2 separate regions of the Homo sapiens genome follow, and region 2 is linked to region 1. Evidence: promoter capture Hi-C in 16 types of primary human blood cells and fetal thymus (Javierre and others, 2016). All regions are on one chromosome and are shown on one strand. Each heading gives the region's core, a stretch centred on a gene start or on the middle of the fragment in contact. The rest is flanking DNA. Distances are from core to core; before and after follow the strand shown. Region 1 holds the start of LPCAT2 (lysophosphatidylcholine acyltransferase 2). Region 2 has its middle 9.2 kb from the start of CES1.

Region 1 (5,437 bases), core at 1,380-3,879:
AGAATCAGCAATTTTGTTGCTTTATTGTGGCATCTGTTCGAGGTTTGCTTCCTCTTTAAGTCTGTTTCTTCATTAGCAATCATATCAGTTTTAATGCTACTACTAACAATGAACAGTAACAATAATATCCCCCTCAATTAATAGAGTGCTTTCTATGTGCAAGGCACTTTTCACGTGTCACCTATTTTAACCTTTCCAACCACATAAATAAAAAAGGCCATTATTAGTTGAATCTTATTGATGAAGAGACTGATGGCTCAAGAGAAGTGATTTTTCCAGGGTCCCATAGCTATTAGGGACCTACAAGGCCAAAGGATAGCCTAGCAGAGGAGCTTTAGCTCTCAAACCAGAATCTCACCACCCTCCGCCACCCTCAAAAACACCCCCACCACCTTCAAAACCGCTCCTGCTACCCTCCACCACCCCCAAAACCACGCTGGGTAAACACAGCTAAGGGAGAAATACTGTGCTTGCTTCTAAACACAGCTGGTATTAATGGATAAGCTCCTTACTCCTTCCTACCAGTCTACCCACTCCTAATCTCCTACATAGAAATTCTGGAGCTACTGCTGAACAGAAATTGAAGGCCTGGGGTTTTTCTGAGGCCCTTTCTGGCTCCGATAGTCTGATTGATAGTATATATATTGCTTCTGGCCTCTTATGATGGGGCTGGTGAGGAAGGTGCGTAAGGAGTGAACTCTACAGGTGACCTCCTCAGTGAGCCTGATGTCATTGTTTCTATCTCTTTTTTCTGTTTTTGAGATGGAGTCTCACTCTGTCACCCAGGCTGGAGTGCAATGGCGCAATCTCGGCTCACTGTAACCTCTGCCTCCCAGGTTTAAGTGATTCTCCTGCCTCAGCCTCCCAAGTAGCTGGGATTACAGGTGCACGCCACCATACCCAGCTAATTTGTTTTGTATTTTGGTAGAGACAGGTATCACCGTGTTGCCCAGGCTGGTCTCGAACTCCTGAGATCAGGCAATCCACCCATCTCGGCCTCCCAAAGTGCTAGGATTATTGGTGTGAGCCACCACTCTCGGCCCCATCTTTTCTATCTTTTATCCTCCCATGGCCTGTCCCCTTGACTCAGATTCTTTTTGTTTCTTCTTCTTCTTTTTTTTTCTTTTTTGAGACAGTGTCTTTCTCTGTCACCCAGGCTGGAGTGCAATGGCATGATCATAGCTCACTGCAGACTTGATCTTCTGGGCTCAAGCAATCCTCCCACTTCAGCCTCCTGAGTAGCTGGGACTGCAGGCATGCAACAGCACAGCCAGCTAATTTTTAATTTTTTTTAGAGATGGTGGAGTCTCTCTTTGTTGCCCAGGCTGGTCTCGAACTCCTGGGCTCAAGGGATCCACCCTCCTCAGCCCCCAAAGTGCTAGGATTACAGGCGTGAGCCACTGCACCTGGCCTGGCTTAGGTTGTTGACAGTTGGAAAGACATCTTTCTGTGCAGGTATCTGGCTAAAGAGTCTCAAGGGTCTGCCAGTCCCAACTTGAAGACCCCCTAGACTGGGGAATCTTCTATCATGGCTGTAATGCACTGTTATTAATGTTCCCTGTTACACTGAGAGAAAAGTCAGTGGCTCCACAACATAATAATGCTTAAAACATGCCATTTCTTCAGTGTTTCTCTATGAACACTACACATGCATTATTTTATTTAATCCTTGCTACAATTCTATGGAGTTAGAATGAATCTCCCATTCCTAGACAAGGAAGCAAACTCAGGTTAAGTGACTGACTCAAGGCCACACATCTATGTGGTAGGGCTGGAAGATTCTGACATTCAGAGGGTAACTTTGGAGAACCCCAGGGCTCAGACTCAGATTTTCATCCTGGCCTTCCTACCTGCTGTGAGAAGAGTTGATCAGTTGGGATGAGTTGATTATCATCTCCTTCCTTTAACTCTCAGCCACTCAGGGTTGATCAACTGTCCTCAGATAATGGGACAAACCCCTGCCCTCCCACCCCCACGAGCACCCACATAGGTCCAAACAGGCTTGAACTTCCTCAGTGTGAAAGGGAGCCACAGCCCAATACATTTCCCTTTTCTGGGTCAGGTTCCTCATCTAGCGTGGAGGGCAACTGTAATTTTTGCCTTTTCTGGTAATAGTAGCTCAGTTTTCCTCTGGAGAACCATCTCTCCCCTGTCAGTCCATTATGTTTTGAGTGAAACAAATTCCACTCCTAGTGCCATCATGGGTGTATTAATATTAGCTCACTTAATGGAACAGCCCAGGGGAAGTGGTTGCTCAATGGCATTACTGGATCCAGGTTAGGATTATCTGAGAATACATTTATCTGCATTTTACGGAAGGCAACCGAGGTTCATAGAGATAGTGATTTGGCCAGCGTCACAGGCCCAGTAAAAGGGATTGAAAATCCAGGTCCGTCCGACCCTAAAGCAGGGAACTCTGCCTAGTGTCTCGCTGTGGAATGTTAGGGATCCTGGGGTACCCTTCAGGGTCTTGGCTCGGAAGGAAAACATTCCCCTCCGAGGGGATGGACTATATTACCAAGGGGGTGGAGCCAGATGCCTGAGGGGGTGTGGCCAGAGCCTGGGGCGTGTCACAGCCGAAGGGGCAGGGCGGCAGCAGCAGGCGTCTAAGTAACTTCAGCGCCTGCGCAGAGGCTCCCCAGCGTCGCCCTAGGCTGGGACTCTAGTAGGTCTTCGGCTCAGTTTTGGCTGCAGCGCCCGCGTAGATCGCTTCGGCCGGGTTCTACGCCCGGCTCAACTATGAGCCGGTGCGCCCAGGCGGCGGAAGTGGCGGCCACAGTGCCAGGTGCCGGCGTCGGGAACGTGGGGCTGCGGCCGCCCATGGTGCCCCGTCAGGCGTCCTTCTTCCCGCCGCCGGTGCCGAACCCCTTCGTGCAGCAGACGCAGATCGGCTCCGCGAGGCGGGTCCAGGTGAGGGGCGTGGGTCTGAGGGGAGAGGTGGTCTGAGGGGGGCCTAGGTCAGAGGGGGGTCCAGGTAAGGGGTGTGGGTCTGAGAGAGGAGGGCGGCCGAGGGGGGCGTGGGTCTGAGGGAGTGAGGTGGTCCGAGGCGGGCGAGAGTCTGAGGAGGGAGGTGGCCTGAAGGGGGCATGGGTCTGAGGAGGGAGGTGGCCCGAGGGGAGCCAGGGTCTGGGGCGGGTCCAGGTGACTGGTGTAGGTCTGACGGGGGAGGGCGGTCGAGGGGCGCGTGGGTCTGAGGGGCGTTGTGGGTCTGGGAAGCAAAGGCATCAGAGGAAGAAAGAGCAGTGGATCTGAGAGGAGAGGACTTCTGAGGGGCCGTGAGCCTGAAAGGGGCGGAGATGTGTGTCTGAGAATTGAGGACATTTAGAGGATGGTCTGAGCGGGCACGGGAGGAGAGAAGATGCTGGGAAGATGCGGGCCTGAGAGGAGAATCCAAAACAGGAAGAGACTGAGCTGGCTGGTGGCGCAGGCTACATTCCATGCCCCAGAAGGTTGAAGGAATCTGTGAATCTGTGACAGAAGCTTCAACTTGAGTTTATGAGAGTGTAGTGGGAGGCAGATCTACTACGGGAGAGTAGATTTGAAGAAGTCTTTTTTTTTTTTTTTTTGCCTTAGGAAGGAGAGGAGTCAGTATGGGATGGATAAGAGTGAGGCAGAAGGCAGAGAGCCTAGGTCTGTGGTTAGAACAACAGGTAAGGCTGGAAAGATTTAGCTGAGCAGGAGCATGATGGAGGGTGGGAAGTCAGAATCAAAGAAAAGGGACAACTGAGTCAGCTTAGGATGTTCAAGAAGTTTTGGTCCAGAATCAGTCTTCACCTAAAAACGTTTCCTAAGTTGAAGCATGAGAAGTAGTAGCCCAGGCTGTTTTCCATTGTTAAAAATGGCTATACTGTTATGCACAAAGGAAGTTTCCTTTCCTTTCCTTTTTCTTGTAAAGGGTTCCTTTTACCATTGGCAGTTGCACTCTTTGGACTTCCTCTTTGTTGAAGTTAGTGATCAGAGAACAAGATAGACCCTGCTAACCACATTTGTCCGTGTGTTCTGCGGGGGTTGGGGGGGTGGGGGAACAATTTTGAAGTTTTCATGTCCATCTCACACATTACTTTGGATTTGAAGCAGTATAATATTTGCAATCAGCTTGTATGCACTAAGACCATTGTCCTCTACAGTGGGGGAAGGTTAAGTGCAGAGCTAAACAACACAGGTGGTGGCTTGAGTAATGGTAGATGGGTGTCTGGTTGAAGAGGGGTGTGAGAGAGGAAGAAGATAAAGAATGTAGTAATACTGCTTTGTGAGGAAATTAAACGTTTAAAAATGTGATCCTCATGTCTTTAAATTAATAGATATTCTTTTTGTGTCTTCACATTCTGAAACATTTGTAAATACATAGACCATTGTTCAAGATTAAATTTAGTCTGATTTAATTAAATCATACTTAAATGAAAATATGCCCATCTATTTGACTTCATATTTTGGAAAGAAACAGCATGGAATGTTGACAAATATTTATATTGCACCTATAATAAATTATTAAGTTTTTCCATCACCTGGTTTGTTACTGTTTAAAGATCTCTTCCAAATAACTCTCTGAGAGTTATAGTATAATGGAATGATAGCTAGTCAGTTATAGGAACTGGTCATTTATTAGTTGTATGACTTTGGCCAAGTCACTTAACCTCTCTGAACTATACTTTTCTCGTCTATTACATTGGAATATTAATAACTCAAAGGAGGGCTACAATTAAGTGAAATAATCTGTTATTGTTTGTTGATCTTAATATTGATAATATTGATAGTTATCCTATATATTTTCTACAAAGTATATACTGTACTTAAAATTTACTACTTGGATTAAATGGGATTTAACAAAGTCTGGATATTAAAAATACTTTTTAAATTTATATAGATCAGAGATACAAGAGGTTTCAGTGGCTTGAATCATCTGGGTAAAGGGAAGATTTGAATAGGCATGGTAGAAAAACAATGTCCATATTATCCAGTTTAAAAGGTGGACACACTTTCATTTAAGTATGACTTAGTATGATTAATTTAGACTAAGTTTAATCTTAAATGATGATCAATGTCTTGCTTAAGGACTGTTGTCCTCACATTTCACTAAGATAGTTAAACAAACAAGTACAAAAATATATAATCTCATGTTTTAGTAAGTGTAATGAAGGAAAACCAGAGAATAACACTGAGAGAAGGCCACCCAATGGAGATGACATATTACCAAATGGAAATATGATGAATTCTCTTAATTTGTCAATGAGTTAACTCAAAATTGATTTACTGTTAGACACTATTATTTGTTGCAAACCTTGAAGATGGCACAGAAAAAAAAGTTGCCTAATATTTTGCAACTTGTTCAATTAAAATCCATATGGGTTGCTCAGTGTAGACATGAGTGACTCTTATGCTAATATACTTTAAACTCATTCCAACTCTTTCTTCAGGGTCTATGCTATATGGTCCTTTC
Region 2 (5,437 bases), core at 1,803-4,302, 330 kb after region 1:
GCTGAGATGGGAAGGTTGCAGTCCTCTGAAACTTCCCACATAGCTGTACTTCTATGGAGGCCAGGACCACATCGGGGTGGGTACAGTCCACAATCCCCCTCCATCCCACCAATCAGGTTCCAAGGGGTCTTCACATCCACAAAATACCATTTTCCCAGATGAATAGCACACACACCAAGACACGCAAATTCAAACCAGATACCCAAATGGCACTTATTGAATTTGCAAGGAGTTTTACCACAATTCTTTTGGCGGTAGTGCCTAGTGGCAACAATATAGAAAACAAGGAACTTTCACCACTGATGTGAGAGATCATTTAGTTCAAACTTCCTTGGGGGCAATTTGGCAAAATCTATCCTAACATTTCAAAAAGGCATCCCTTTTGCCCCAGCTATTTTTTATTAACCATGTTCTTTATTTTCTCCATTCTGACACTTTGACATGCAGGGCTTTGCTCCTAGAGGGACTGCTCCTCCCATGGTTAGCCAATTGCTAGAGATATAAGCCACTTGTCTCTTAGTGTGCCTTTCATACATAAACTCACCGATCCAGAGCCCACATCCCCAACCACCTCCTTCATGGGCTCTCCCACTGTGAACTAATAGCCTCGCACCCTAATCACCCCAGAGCTAGGTACCAGATGGAACAGCCCCAATGCTGCAGAGCCCCCTGAAATTGTTCAAACTAACCACTCCTAAACCTGCTCACCCTGCCTCACCTCTTCCTTCCCGGGGAAACCACAGGAACACCTTTTGCCACATCCCCATCACCACCACCTTCTGATGGACTCCAGCGTTGTCTGTGCAGCCTCCTGCTCCCATGGCATGGAGTGCCCCCTCGTCTTGTCTTGGGATCTGTGAGTAACAAGCTACTTATCCTTTCTTTCTTTCTTTTCTTTCTTTCTTTCTTCTCTTTTTTTTTTTTTTTTTTTTTTTTTGAGACAGAGTCTCGCTCTGTTGCCCAGCCTGGAGTGCAATGGCACAATCTTGGCTCACTGCAACCTCTGTCTCCCAGGTTCAAGTGATTCTCCTTCCTCAGGCTCCCGAGTAGCTGGGATTATAGGCACCCACCACCAGCTATTTTTTTTTTTTTTTGGTATTTTTAGTAGAGACAGGGTTTCACCATGTTGGTCAGGCTGGTCTCGAACTCCTGACCTCAGGTAATCCATCCACCTTGGCCTCCCAAAGTGCTGGGATTATAGATGTGGGCCAGCATGCCCAGCCCAAATTGCTTTTTCAATGGCTGACATCTGATTGGTGGGCCTGCCATACCTAAATAATGATAAAACCTTTATTTTAAAGCACTATTCTCTAGGAATAATTCTGAATGAGCCCAAAGATATATGTATCAGGTGGTCACCTCAGTGAAGTTGACAATGGTACAAAATAGGAAATCATTCGAATGGCTAACAATAGTAGACAGTTAAATAATTTATTGAGTATTATACTATGGGATGCAATGTAGCTGTCAGAAAGGTAGAAAAAATTGTTTTTAAATGTTTGTGTAAAGGAAAAACGGTTTACCACTTCCTGTGAAAGAAGAGGGATCCAAAATTTTTTATTTCCCCCCTCCAATTATCCTAAAAAAAAACAGTGAAATAAAGTTTTTAAAGCTACAAACCCACACTGACAAACTGTGAAAGAAGAAATGACAGCATTTTGGACACTGAGAGGCCAACAGAATGACGATAACTAGTTTTAGAACAGAAAAAGGAGACGTTAACTCCTGGAAAGAAAGACACCACCATGCACCTATGCAATCAGAATAGAGACAGAAAAGACTCTCTGGGTTTAGGGGTATTGGATGCCTGTAGAAGTTGGGGTGTAGGTAACCCCCATTTATGCCCATGGGGAGTGCACCTCTCCCCTTTGAGCTCCACCCCAAGGCCAAAGTTTCCTGGAGGCTCTTTGCCTCTGCCACTCCTAGAACTGGGCTGACCCCAGGAACTCCAACCACCTAATTACAACAGAATATCGGAAGGGCCTTGCCAGATGTCAACATAAGATGATTTCTGTCCAGAGATCTGAGTGTCAAAAGGAAGAAGTTTCCCAAAGCTCATGTAATGGCTGCAGTAATGATGACTCTTGATGAAGTCAATGCCTGGCCACCAAACAAGCTCTCATGATGGTGGACAAGTTTGTCCTTGCCTTCATATTACTAATTGGCCATCAACAGTCCATTTTTCCCATTGAATAACTTATTTTCAGAAATGTGCTTCTATAACTCAATTGTTGCATGCAGTGAAACTAATGGAGGACTTATATAGTGATAAATAACAATCAAAGTGTACCAATCCTTCTAAAAATACCGAAGGTATCAGCCAGAGTTCTGTTCTCTCATATGAAAAGTTCAGGAGGTGAATAGAGCTTGAAACACAATTACATAAATAAATGTAATAAATGAAATAAATAGATTAGATAGATAATAGATAGATCATAGATAATTGATAGATGATAGATAATAGGTAGGTAGGTAGATAGGTAGATAGACAGACAGACAGACAGACAGACAGACAGACAGACAGATAGATAGATAGATATTTTATGGCATTATCTTCCGATAAAGAGAGAAGTCTGTTTCCTAAAGGTCAAGGTAGAAAAGCTGTCCTCCAGGCACCCACAGTGTGCTCCAGCAACCTTGCCAACACCAGCCCTGCTGCCCGTGGGCTGGCCCCCTTGCCACCACTGCTCAGGGTCACACTTCCGCCATGCTGTGGCTGGCCATCCCCCTTCCTACCCATCCTTTAATTTCAGACTTGAGCTCCACCCCATTCATGGAGCACAGCGAGCTCTTTGCAATGAATTTCCTTGTATTTTGAGACAATCAAGCGGCAAGGTAGGTTTTTTTCTCCCCAGCCCTTCCCGTCCTTGGGAATAATGAGGCACACTCTCAATACGAACTTTTAGCAGAGCATACGGGGCAGGACTGAGTGGGATCTGTCCCTGCTGGGGGAAGGGAGGCTCATCTTGTAGATGCGCTACCTGGGGCAGCACCAGGTGGGGCAGCTACCCAGGTGCAGGGCCTGAGCCCGCTTCCCACCCTCCCCTGCAGCTCTGCCCTGGGGGAATCTGGACTGAGTTGGTCCAAGGAGAGGAAATCCCTTATGTCCCTCTGAGGTAGGCTCCTGGAGACTTAATGGGAAAGTCCAGGAGGTGGAAAAGGGAAAAACTGCTGGCTCCAACCTCTGTTCTGCTAGTGAGTTTAGTCTTTTCAGTCAGACTTTTCAGGGAGTGGATTCTGCCTTTTCCTCTTTCCAAATGTTACAGATGGAATGGATAACACTATATTGTATTGGCTTGTATATAATTTAACTATTTGGCATGGTCTTATTGTCAGTCCAAGTTCTGCGATGTCACACCACCAGCATCTCAGGAGCCTCAGAATAGAGGGAAGCGTTTTTCCTTTGTGATAATGCTGCCCTCTACTGGACATCAGGAAATTCACAGGTGAAGACCGACGTAGTTTGTCCCTAAAGTTTTGCTTTGATTTAATTTAATGGATAGGGTTCAAGATTGTTTAAAAAAAAGGGGAGAGTGGGGAGGGGGAGGCAGTGGGTCCTGGAAAAGTAAATTGTTTATTTTACAATAAGAAAGTGGTTAAATATTTTATTTTTTTTACAATGGTGGAAAATTAGAAGTGATTGTGAAAATGATGTGTACCTGTCTTGCTGGTGAGTAGGATGTGATTTGGCGCTTTAGGAAAGTGAATTTGTAGAACTCAAAAATATTGACTTATAAAGGGCATGGCCGTTGACCCAGTCCATCTTATGCAAATCTAGATGCCATAAATAATATTTAAAAGTAAAAATACTGGGGTGGAGGTTGCAGTGGGCAGAGATCGCGCCACTACACTCCAGCCTGGGTGAAAGAGTGAGACTCTGTCTCAAAACAAAACAAAAAAAAAGAAGTCATTCCCAATGTTGCTCATCAAATTATGACCATAAATATCCAGGATAAGACTAGTGGCTAAAGAAACTGTGACACGTCAACACCAGGCAGAAAATAAAGCAGATTTTTTTGTTGTTTTGGAGAGCCTCTAGGAACTTGAAAAATACATATGCCACACTCTTAAGACCCAGTGGTTCTTAATCGGGGTGTTCATTAAAATGCCAGAAAACTGAAAATACTTCTAGGTCCCATCCAAGGAGATTTTGCTTCCGATTGACTGGCTAGTGGCCTGGCCATTGGTATTTTAGAAAAACCCTCCAAGTGATTATTTTACTTACATTCCAGATAGAAAACTCTAAATTAAAGGGGAAAAAAACAGACACAAAGTGGCATTTAAATAAATGTCAACTTTAACTCCACAAAGCATCTGATTGCATGTGGACAGAAAGAGAAGGAAAGAGGGCCCTATATCTGGATAACTTAGAAATGTGCTCCCCCTAGCAAGATATCTACCAAAATTAGAAACACATTTGAGGATGCTGGCACTGCGAGCAATATATAAATGATGCGTGTAATGTCATTTAATATGATCGTATTTTTAAAAATGAGTTGAGTGGTGTTTTCTAGCTGTTAGTTTTTCCAAATATCAATATAGAAATTAGTCTTCTGCAGCTGCAGAGGCAATTCAGTTTCCAGCTTGCTTTCACGGCCTAGAGCCATAAAGTGGCCCAGAGCATCTCTGATCCACCCCTCCCACAACCACCTAATCCAGAGACAACCGAATGCTTTGGACCATCTGATGAGAGAGGTAGCTGCATGGCAGTAAGAGTCCTGCTCTGAAGTGACAAGAGCCTTAAGGCCTGGTTTTGACTTACTGCTAACTTGCTCACACTGCATACTTGCTGAGTGATCTTGGGTGAATCGTTTCACCTCTCTGAGGTTCACTATGAAATGAGAGGTCAAGGGTCCAAACTTAAACACCTTCAGAGGTTGGGTAATATCAGTGAGTAAAATAGACCAGGCACAGCACAAAGGGGTATGGTGTGGACTGTGGCACGTTGAGAACTTAGGCCTCTGCAAAGGGGGCAGCCACCTCTCAGTTCCTGCAGATTACTCTATCTTTGCTGAGGACAGTTGCACAGGTAGTGCACTGCAGAAGGGTAACACTTTAGAGAAGGTGTCATTTGCATCATAAATGCAGATATTTATCCATGGCAGTTTCATGGAAGATGTCTGTAGAAGGTTTTGAGGAAGGGGCACCTTGTAATTTGCATAAAAGGTTGTATGGACCGCCAGAAGTGCTGGTTATCATGTGGGAATGCAGCTCGGTAACAGTATCTTCTGGGTTTTCTTGTTATTGTTGTTTCCTGAAGAAGCTGGAAATATGGCATTTAATGTGAAATTTTCCTAATTTAAAATTTGCTGGCAACAAATTCCAAAACATGTTTAACGTTGTGTGGGCCAAACAAAACACTTCAGGGGGTCTGATTCGGGCACTGAGTTGGAGATCTCTCACCCAGATGAGTTACTGGCATCTCAGAAACCCTCCT

Evidence for each region. The method cuts DNA at HindIII sites, captures the fragments that hold promoters and counts their contacts. A CHiCAGO score of 5 or more calls a contact.
Region 2: a contact is called between a fragment that was not itself captured here and the fragment with the promoter of LPCAT2 in region 1, in 5 of 17 cell types (monocytes, M2 macrophages, M1 macrophages and 2 more). The highest score is 15.5, in monocytes.

The regions. Positions count from the first base shown.
Region 1 is chr16:55,506,443-55,511,879 of GRCh38, forward strand. It overlaps LPCAT2 (lysophosphatidylcholine acyltransferase 2), which reads left to right and starts at 2,630. Exons shown (of 14, transcript NM_017839.5): 1 at 2,630-2,910. The coding sequence starts at 2,740. It overlaps MMP2 (matrix metallopeptidase 2), which reads left to right. Exons shown (of 13, transcript NM_004530.6): 13 at 1-249. The HindIII fragment of the contact is 4,685 bases long and covers 1-3,478 here.
Region 2 is chr16:55,839,595-55,845,031 of GRCh38, forward strand. No RefSeq gene overlaps it. Among named protein-coding and RNA genes, the nearest start is that of CES1, 9.2 kb to the left of the region's middle. The HindIII fragment of the contact is 6,371 bases long and covers 1-5,437 here.